Linked DNA regions of Homo sapiens: regions 1 and 2 are each linked to region 3. Evidence: promoter capture Hi-C in human tissues and cell types (Jung and others, 2019). All regions are on one chromosome and are shown on one strand. The core of a region is centred on a gene start or on the middle of the fragment in contact, and the rest is flanking DNA. Distances in the headings are between cores, read along the strand shown.

Evidence for each region. Contacts are between HindIII fragments. The study calls those that stand out against the background at their distance.
Region 1: a contact is called between a fragment that was not itself captured here and the fragment with the promoter of ELN in region 3, in 2 of the 25 tissues and cell types used here (aorta and pancreas).
Region 2: the fragment with the promoter of RFC2 here is called in contact with the fragment with the promoter of ELN in region 3 in 1 of the 25 tissues and cell types used here (small bowel).

The regions. Positions count from the first base shown.
Region 1 is chr7:73,847,436-73,850,266 of GRCh38, reverse strand. No RefSeq gene overlaps it. Among named protein-coding and RNA genes, the nearest start is that of METTL27, 6.3 kb to the right of the region's middle. The HindIII fragment of the contact is 7,829 bases long and covers 1-2,831 here.
Region 2 is chr7:74,252,850-74,255,788 of GRCh38, reverse strand. RFC2 (replication factor C subunit 2) reads left to right here and starts at 1,390. Exons shown (of 11, transcript NM_181471.3): 1 at 1,390-1,518. The coding sequence starts at 1,406. RefSeq lists enhancers at 997-1,076, 550-1,152, 1,487-1,716, 1,153-1,755, 1,756-2,358 and 1 more and a silencer at 1,317-1,436. The HindIII fragment of the contact is 19,783 bases long and covers 1-2,939 here.
Region 3 is chr7:74,026,605-74,029,457 of GRCh38, reverse strand. ELN (elastin) reads right to left here and starts at 1,285. Exons shown (of 33, transcript NM_000501.4): 1 at 1,189-1,285. The coding sequence starts at 1,270. RefSeq lists enhancers at 1-929, 1,902-2,853. The HindIII fragment of the contact is 22,090 bases long and covers 1-2,853 here.

The DNA.
Region 1 (2,831 bases), core at 188-2,687, 180 kb after region 3:
CTCATCAGATGGATACTGTAAAAACGCCACTCTGGCTGGGCTCAGTTTGTTAACTATTGAAACGCTCATGAAGAAATACATGGGGAGTTATTACACTAGTCTCTTCTTTTGTGTGTGTTTGAGATTTTCTTCTTCTTTTTTTTCTTTTAGTTTTTTCAGACAGAGTCTTGCTGTGTTGCCCAGGCTGAAGTGCAATGGCGTGATCTTGGCTCACTGCAACCTCTGCCTCCCCGGTTCAAGTGATTCTCCTGCCTCAGCCTCCCAAGTAGGTGGGATTACAGGCATGCACCACCATCCCTGGATAATTTTTGTACTTTTAGTAGAGACAGGGTTTTGCCATGTTGGCCAGGCTGGTCTTGAACTCCTGATCTCAAGTGATCCACCCACCTTGGCCTCCCAAAGTACTGGGATTACAGGTGTGAGCCACCGCACCTGGCTGGTGTAGTTTGAGTCCACAGGATTTGCTGATGAACAGGGTGCGAGATGGGAGAAAAACAGCTTGAGCTGAGCCCCTGAGTGCAAGGTGGTTCAGGGGCATTTGCAGAGACGGGCCCTGAAGAGGAGCAGATTTGGGAGTGGAAAGAATCACTCTCGGGTCTGGGCTCGTTGCCAGACCTGTGGCCTCCAAGGAGATGTCAGTTTCATGGCTGGGTGAACAAGTCCAGAGTTCAGGGGAGAGCCAAGACTAGAAGTCATCAATTTGGGAGTCACCCACAAATAAACAGTATTTAAAACCACGGGACTAGATGAGATCACCTAGGAAGTGGGTGTACACAGAGAAGGAAGAAGACCCAGGACAGAGCCGGGGGCCTCTCCTAAGCTTAGAGGTAGGAGAAGAGCAAGGAGGAGGCGGTGAAGAAGATGAGGTAGGAAGAAAACTCCAAGGAAGGGAAGTTGCCATCTGGTCCTCAACAGCCCCCACACCCCATCAGCACCAAGGTCACCCCCTCCTCAGCAGCCCCTGACTCTTGACACTCCAGCTCTTGCCAAGTAACTGCAACAGCCTCGGAACTTGCGGTTCACCCAGCTGGCTCTCCCTGCCGCCTTCTGGAGCCATCTTGGTAAAATGCAAATCTGAAGCCACAACTCCCCATTACACATTCAGGGTTAGAAAGCACGTCCATAGACCAGGCGTGGTGGCTCATGCCTGTAATCCCAGCACTTTGGGAGGCCGAGGCAGGCAGATCACCTGAGGTCAAGAGTTTGAGACCAGCCTGGCCAGCGTGGCAAAACCCCATCCCTACTAAAAATACAAAAAAAATTAGCTGGGCGTGGTGGCACATGCCTGTAGTCCCAGCTACTTGGGAGGCTGAGGCAGGAGAATTGCTTGAACCCAGAAGGCAGAGGTTGCAGTGAGCCAAGATTGCACCACTACACTCCAGCCTGGGCAACAGAGTGAGACTCCATCAAGAAAGGAAGGAAGGAAGAAAGGAAGGAAGAAAGGGAGGGAGGGAGGGAAAGGAAAGGAAAGGAAAGGAAAGGAAAGGAAAGAAAGAAAGAAAGAAAGAAAGAAAGAAAGAAAGAAAGAAAGAAAGAAAGAAAGAAGGAAGGAAGGAAAGAAAAGAAAGAAAGAAAAAGAAAAGAAGGAAGGAAGGAAGGAAGGGAGGGAGTCCATAGCCTGGGGACCAAGCTCTCCATGGCCTGGGTCCTGCACACATCAAAATGGACACCTGTAACATTCCCCGCTCATCACACAGGTGCACATGAAGGAACACACGCCCTCACACCCCAGGAGCAGCACAGGAGCCCGCACTGTGGCAGGCCAGGTCTCCCCAACAACTGTTTCAGTACTGACTGAGTGGTTAATTTAAATATTAAAAGCCAGTGCCCTTATACAAAGGCTGGGATGTAACAAAAGCCCACCAAGAGTTTTGCCCAGGCCTTTCCTGGGCCTTAAATCACGACAAAATAATGAAGGAATTCTTAACAGGACCATTTAGAATTAAGCAAGTTTTATTTTGGGTCTGAAGAAACTCCCCAGGCCTCCACAAACAAATTTATTGGCGGTCTGAAGGAACTCCTCAAACCTCCATGATTTAGCAGGAGATAACAGGAATCACCCCAGCACCTGGACCCATTTAGATAAGTAAATTTACTGAGGTTCCAGAGGAAGAGCTTCGGGACTCAGACCTTAGTCATGGATTAAAAGAAATTAATCACTTATGTCTTCAGATGAATGCACACTTACACATAGACGTATAGCTTAGAAGGTGTATAAGCTCTGGAAAACTTTGTAACTTTGAGTTAGTCGGGTGATAATTTCCACGCCTTCTCCCTGTAAACGGTTACAGAAATAAAAACTCTCTTCCTCCCCAGTTTGTGTGCATCTCGTTATTGGGCCACAAGAAGTAGCAGCCCGACCCTCAGTTTGGTCTGGGAACAGTACCACAAGCCATTCTCCCCTCCCTCCTTCCTGGATGGAAAGCTCACACCCCACACCTGAGCCTCAAAGTGCCAGATCACAGTTTCCCAGCTTCTGTGGCTTCTGGAAATACCCTCCTCCCATAGAAAGAAAGAGAAAGGCCAGGTAGGTTCCTCACACATGTAATCCCAGCATTTTGAATGCCAAGGAGGGAGGATGGCTTGAGCCCAGGAATTGGAGACCAGCCTAGGCAACATAGCAAGACCCCATCTCTACAATTTTTTTTTTTTAATTAACCAGGCTTGGTGGCAAGCACCTGGAGTCCCAGCTACCCAGGAGGCTGAGGCAGAAGGATTGCTTGAGCCCAGGACGTAGAGGCTGCAGTGAGCTAGGATTGTATCACTGCACTCCAGCCTGAAAACAGAGCAAGACCCCTCTCAAAAAAATAAAATTAAAATTAAAAATATAA
Region 2 (2,939 bases), core at 141-2,640, 230 kb before region 3:
AGACTCCATCTCAAAAACAAAAAACAAGAAACAAAACAAAGAATGGTCAAAGCACTTGTGAATCTGAAGTACCTACTTTCTTTTCTTCTTATTTTTTTAGAAACAGGATTTCACTCTGTCCCCCGGGGCTGGAGTACATTGACTTGATCATGGTTCACTGTGGCTTCAACCTCATGGGCTCAACCGATTCTCCTGCCTCAGCCTCCCGAGTAACTGGGACTACTGTCGCGTACCACCACAACTGGATAATTTAAAAAATTTTTTTTGTAGAGATGGGGTCTCACCATGTTGCCCAGGCTGGTCTCAAACTCCTCGGCTTGAGGGATCCTCCCACCTTAGCCTCCCAAAGTTCTGGGATCATCATTATTGAATATTATGACAATTTGGGCTATGGGAGGAAAGATTGGGTAGAAAAACAGCCCATAAGAATGCTCAAAACCCTTGCAAGGTTGAAGTATTTACTTTTTCTTTTTTGAGACAGGGTCTTGCTGCAGACCAGGTTGGAGTGCAGTGGTGTGATCAGAGATCACTGCAGCCTGCACCTCCTGGGCTCAAGCACTCCTCCGCCTCAGCTTCCTGAGTAGCTGGAACTGCAGGTGCGCGCCACCACGCCCGGCTACTTTTTTAATTTTTATTTTTGTAGAGACGGGGATCTCACTTTGTTGCCCAGGCTGGTCTCGAACTCCTGGGCTTAATCGCTCTTCCGGTCTCTGTCCCCCAAAGTGCTGGGATTAGAGGGGTGAGCCACCGCACCGGCCTTGAGTCCCTATTTTCCTGGAATGAACATTGCATTTCATCTGACAAAAGGACGGTTTCAGTTTCCTCCTCTGCAAAATGGGGTGGGGGTGGAATTCCCATCTTGCAGCCGAGAATTCCCTGATAATAAACGTCGAGTACCGAGCGCGGTTGAGGCGCAGGAGCCTACCCAACGGGAGCAGCTCACTAGGACATTCAGAGCAATCTGGAAAAGTGGGCACGGGCAGCCCCAGACGTCATCCCCGGACCCCGCTGCCCAGCAGCGCCCGGACGCCAGCGTTGTCCGTGTCCCAACACCGAAGCCCGCGTTTGGCCGCAACCCCTCCAGGCCCTGCTCCTCCCACGCCGCCGCGGAGCGGATCTTCCACAGAAACCACACACAAACGTCCGTTCCGAGAGCGACCTGCTTTCTCGGAAGGCGTCGCGGCCACAGCTCGCCTTCCTGTCGCTCCCAGGCCGGGCGCCAGGTCTCCCATAGCAACCGCGGCCTCCAGCGATGGCCGCCAGGGCACCACCGGAACCCTCTTCGCAGGCACAGAGAGGCGCGGGTACGTAACTTCCGCTCGCGCCCGGCGGAAGCCAGGGGGCGGGGCTTGCGTGGCGGCGTCAAGGGGCGGTGCCTCGGGTGGCGGGAAGAGGAGGCGCGAGAATGGAGGTGGAGGCCGTCTGTGGTGGCGCGGGCGAGGTGGAGGCCCAGGACTCTGACCCTGCCCCTGCCTTCAGCAAGGCCCCCGGCAGCGCCGGCCACTACGAACTGCCGTGGTGAGGTCCCAGGCCGTAAAGAATGGGCGCGTTTGGACGTGAGGGTGGGCGAGTGGCGGGCCGTGCTCCGGAGAAACTCGGGGGTCAGGGGCTCGTTTTGGGGAATCCCGAGGGAGGAGGAGGCCCCGGGTGGCATCGAGATGATTTCAAGAAGGCGACGGACATGGATCGAGAGTGGCCGGTCTAAACTCTGCGAGCGGAGTCTCGCTCACTACAATGCTTATGACAATTAGGGCTACCCCGGGTGGCCACCTACTCTGACCTAGTTGGTTTTTTCAAAAGTTTTTGTGTATAGTAGTGTATGACCTAGTGTTTTCAAAAACTTCAATCTTTTAAAAAAAATATCGATTACATGTTGAAAATAATATTTTGACTGTTAGGTTCAATAACATTTACATTTGAAATTTTTTTAAAAAAATCAAGACGGGGGTTTTGCTGTGTTGCCCAGGCTGATGTCCAGCTCCTTGGCTCAAGTGATCCCCCTGCCTCAGCCTCCTAAGTAGATGGGACTACAGGCACGCACCACCATGCCCAGTTAATTTTTTTTTTTTAGATGGAGTCACACTTTGTCACACAGGCTGGAGTGCAGTGGTGTGATTTCTGCTCACTACAACCTGCATCTCCCTGGTTCAATCAATTCTGCCTCAGCCTTCCTAGTAGCTGGGATTACAGGCATGTACCATCACACCCTGCTAATTTTGTGTTTTTAGTAGAGGCTGGGTTTCACCATGTTGGCCAGGCTGGTCTCGAAGTCCTGATCTCAAGTGATCCGTCCGCCTCGCCTTCCCAAAGTGCTGGGATTACAGGCATGAGCCACTGTACCCAGCCTAGGCCTACGGTGTCTAGCCAGCTATGCTGTGTATTTGGCACACGTCTGCAGAAACTGGCAGGTAATCCTTGCCTGGCATGGTGGCTCACGCCAGTAATCCCAGCACTTTGGGAGGCTGAGGTGGGCAGATCACCTGAGGTTGGTAGTGACCCAAGATCGCACCATTGCACTCCAGCCTGGGCAACAAGAGCAAAACTCTGTCTCCAAAAAAAAAAAAAAGAAAAGAAACTGGCAGGTAAGGGATGAGAAAGGAGCTTGGTTGCACCCATGTTGTCACACCAAATGATGTCAGTGCTGTATGTGCTGGGCCTCTTGTGACGGGCGGACAGGGTTGCAGCACAGTGTCACATTGCTCCAGATGACCTGTGCTGGCCGTGCTCCAGCAGCAACAGGTGTTTCTCTGCTGTGGCAGGTTTGAAGCCTATGCTGTACAATTCTCATGCCTTTAACTTTTCAAATGGCACTTGGGCATCTTATTACATTTTATTTATTTATTATTTATTTTTGAAACAGAGTCTCACTCTGTAGCCCGGGCTGGAGTATAGTGGCATGCATGATCTCAGCTCACTGCAACTTCTGCCTCCCAGGTTCG
Region 3 (2,853 bases), core at 36-2,535:
CCCTCCTTTTTCCCATGCCCGGGAGCCTCTTCTGTCCTCCCCCGTTGGCCGCGGCATAGCAGCCCCACAGGGCACACCCTCAAACCCCATAACCAACTGTGCCTGGGTTGGGGCACATAGCAGATGGCCCAGCAGTGCCCCAGGATCCACTCCAGCCTCTGTCTCAGCCACACTGCCTCTGCCAGGAGACAGACACCTTCTCCAGCCCGCCTTTCCATGCTTGCGTGCCACATCGCACACACATTCACACACACAGATGTACACACTCCATAACACACACAGTGACAGTCCACACCAGTGTCACACCTGGATGCCAGATCGCCCATGTCTACATGTGTACATGTCTACATGTCTGTCAGGTGGCAGACTTTTGCACACACTAAGGAGCAGCTTCATATACCTCCTCCAAACATACGCATACACCTGCCTAAGGATGAACCTGTGAGCAGACATATGTACCCCTCCAGAAATCCCTTTCCCTGTTCAGTGACACAGCCGGGCATCTGAACACATGCACACCTGTGCATGCACACATACACACACGAGCACACAGCACGCTCATTCCTGTGTGCATGCACACACACACACACACACAAATGCATACCAGGAGTCCCTGCCTGCCTCAGCAGGGAGAACACAGCAGCAGCTTCCCAACCTGCAAACCCATCCTCAGCGGAGCCCTGACCTTCCTGACGGGGGGATCCCGGCTTCCCAGGGGTCAAGGAACCTGCTGAGGTCACACAGCTCACTGCGGTTGAGCTGGTATCAAGCCCAGGTTCCCTGTCCCCAGGGCTGGTGTGCACCCCAGCTGTGTCCACAGGTGTGCAGACTGTGGTGTCTCCAGACCCAGGGGTTCCCGCTGGGCCCTCCCCCAGGATGCTCTGATCCCCCTACAGGGCGGGCACCCGGGCACCTGAGCAGGGGCCCCCTCAGCCCTCGCAGGGCAGCAAAGCCTGGATGCTGGGCTGGGACTATTCTGAGTCGAGGGTGTCTCTTTGACAGGTTCCTCCTGGGCACGGGGCTGGCTCCTGGGAGGGGCAGTTCCGAGGACCCAGTGGCTGAGGGGCTCCCACCTGGGACCCCTTGCAGTTCCCAGGGACGAAGGTCTCCCCCTTGAGCGTCTAGTCACCTGGCCCAAAGGGCCCGCAGCTGTGGGCAGCGCTGGGGACAGGGGCGAGGGGTCCTTACCTCCAGGCCGAGAGGGGTGGAGGATGGACAGCAGGAGCAGGAGGACTCCGGGCCGCGGGGCCGCCGCCGTCAGACCCGCCATCTCGGGGAGAAATGCCCCAGCCCGCTCTCCGCACCTCGTTTTATCCCCAAAGCCTAATTGTTGCCTCGTCGGCTGTGAGGGAAAGAGGGAGGGAGAGAGGGCGGGCGGGAGGGCGGGAGAGGGGGGAGGCCTGGGGGAGGGGGCCGCGGGGAGGGGACAATTACGAAAGGCCCGGCTCACAAGCCTCCCAGGCCCGGGCTGCTGGACTGCGAGCTTTTTTCCTTGACACACACACGCACACACATGCACACAAGCACACACTCACACACACACACTTTCCCCCATCTCTTTCCCGCTTTCCCTCTGCGACTGTTCTTTCGCTGCTGGCCCTGTTCCCGCCAGAAAGAGCGAGGGGGGCCTCTGCCAGGACAGCCCTCGGGAGAGGAAGCAGAAGGGAGGGCCTGGCGGCCAGGCCAAAAATCCCAGCCCCAGCCAAGGCCCGAGTGGCCAGGCCCCCGCCCCTCCGGCTGGGCCCCGGGCCCAGTGTGAGGATACGGGCCAGCTGTCCCGCGCCTCAGCCCCCACCCCGGCCCTCCAGACTCCCCAACACCCCCAGGTCTGGCTAGAGACAGGTTCTGCCCAAAGCTGGGGAGGGGAGGCATTGGGCAGGTCTGGGGGTTTGGGGGGTGCGATGTCTACAGAGGCCGGGGGGCTGCAGGTTGAATGGCCTGGAAGGTAGGCCCGGGTTGGTATTGCTCTGGGAGGGATCTGGGGGGAAGGTAGGGGACCCTGGACAGGGCTGCATTCTGCAGGGGCCAAGGTCTCTGCCTAGCGCCTGAAGCTGGGGAGGAGGTGTTGGGTGGGTCTGGGGTGGATGCCTGCAGATGCCAGGGGGTTAGAGGCAGGGGAATGGCTTGGGAGTTAAGGCCATGTTGGTGCTGTCCCCAGGGGCATCTGGAGCACATGGAGGATCCCGACACACAGGGTTCTATTCTGCATGGGTCAAGGTCACAGCCCTATACCCAGCCCCATGCAGGCCGCAGGGTCTGGTAAAAATCAGGCTGGATCCCCAGGTGCCCTGTGGGGGAACAGGGAGGTGGGAGCCCCCCGCAGACTGACAGGCAGCCCAGCTTCCCATTATCACTGGGTCACCTCCCATCCCCACGCTGAGCACAGCTAGCGCCCACACCAGTCTGGGAGCTTCTCGACTGCTGTTCTCCCGGCCCCTCTGGGAAGGCTGACATTCCGCTGGTGGCCAGGAGGGGGCGGCCTGCACTGAAACAGCTGGGACCACGTTCCTGGAGAACTCTGCATTTCTGCCCCCAGGACTGAGCTGGACGGGGACCCTGGGGGATTTTGGGGGTTGGAGTGTGGGATGGAACAGGGGAGGGTCGTGTCCCCCACCCCTCACTTCCCACTACTGCTAGAGGAGAAGAAATGTGAGACCTAGAGAATAGGAGAGGGAAACTTGTTCCTTGTCCTAGGTCACAGCCAGTCAGGGAACAGCATGGAAGCCACACGCCCTGTGGGCTTTTCCCTGCACCACGATGGCTCCGAGGGATGAGTTAAAGACCCCTTGTGGAGGCAGGAGCACTGTGGCAGTCTGGAGTGCCAGCAGGGGTGGCTCAGCGTGGAAAGGTCAA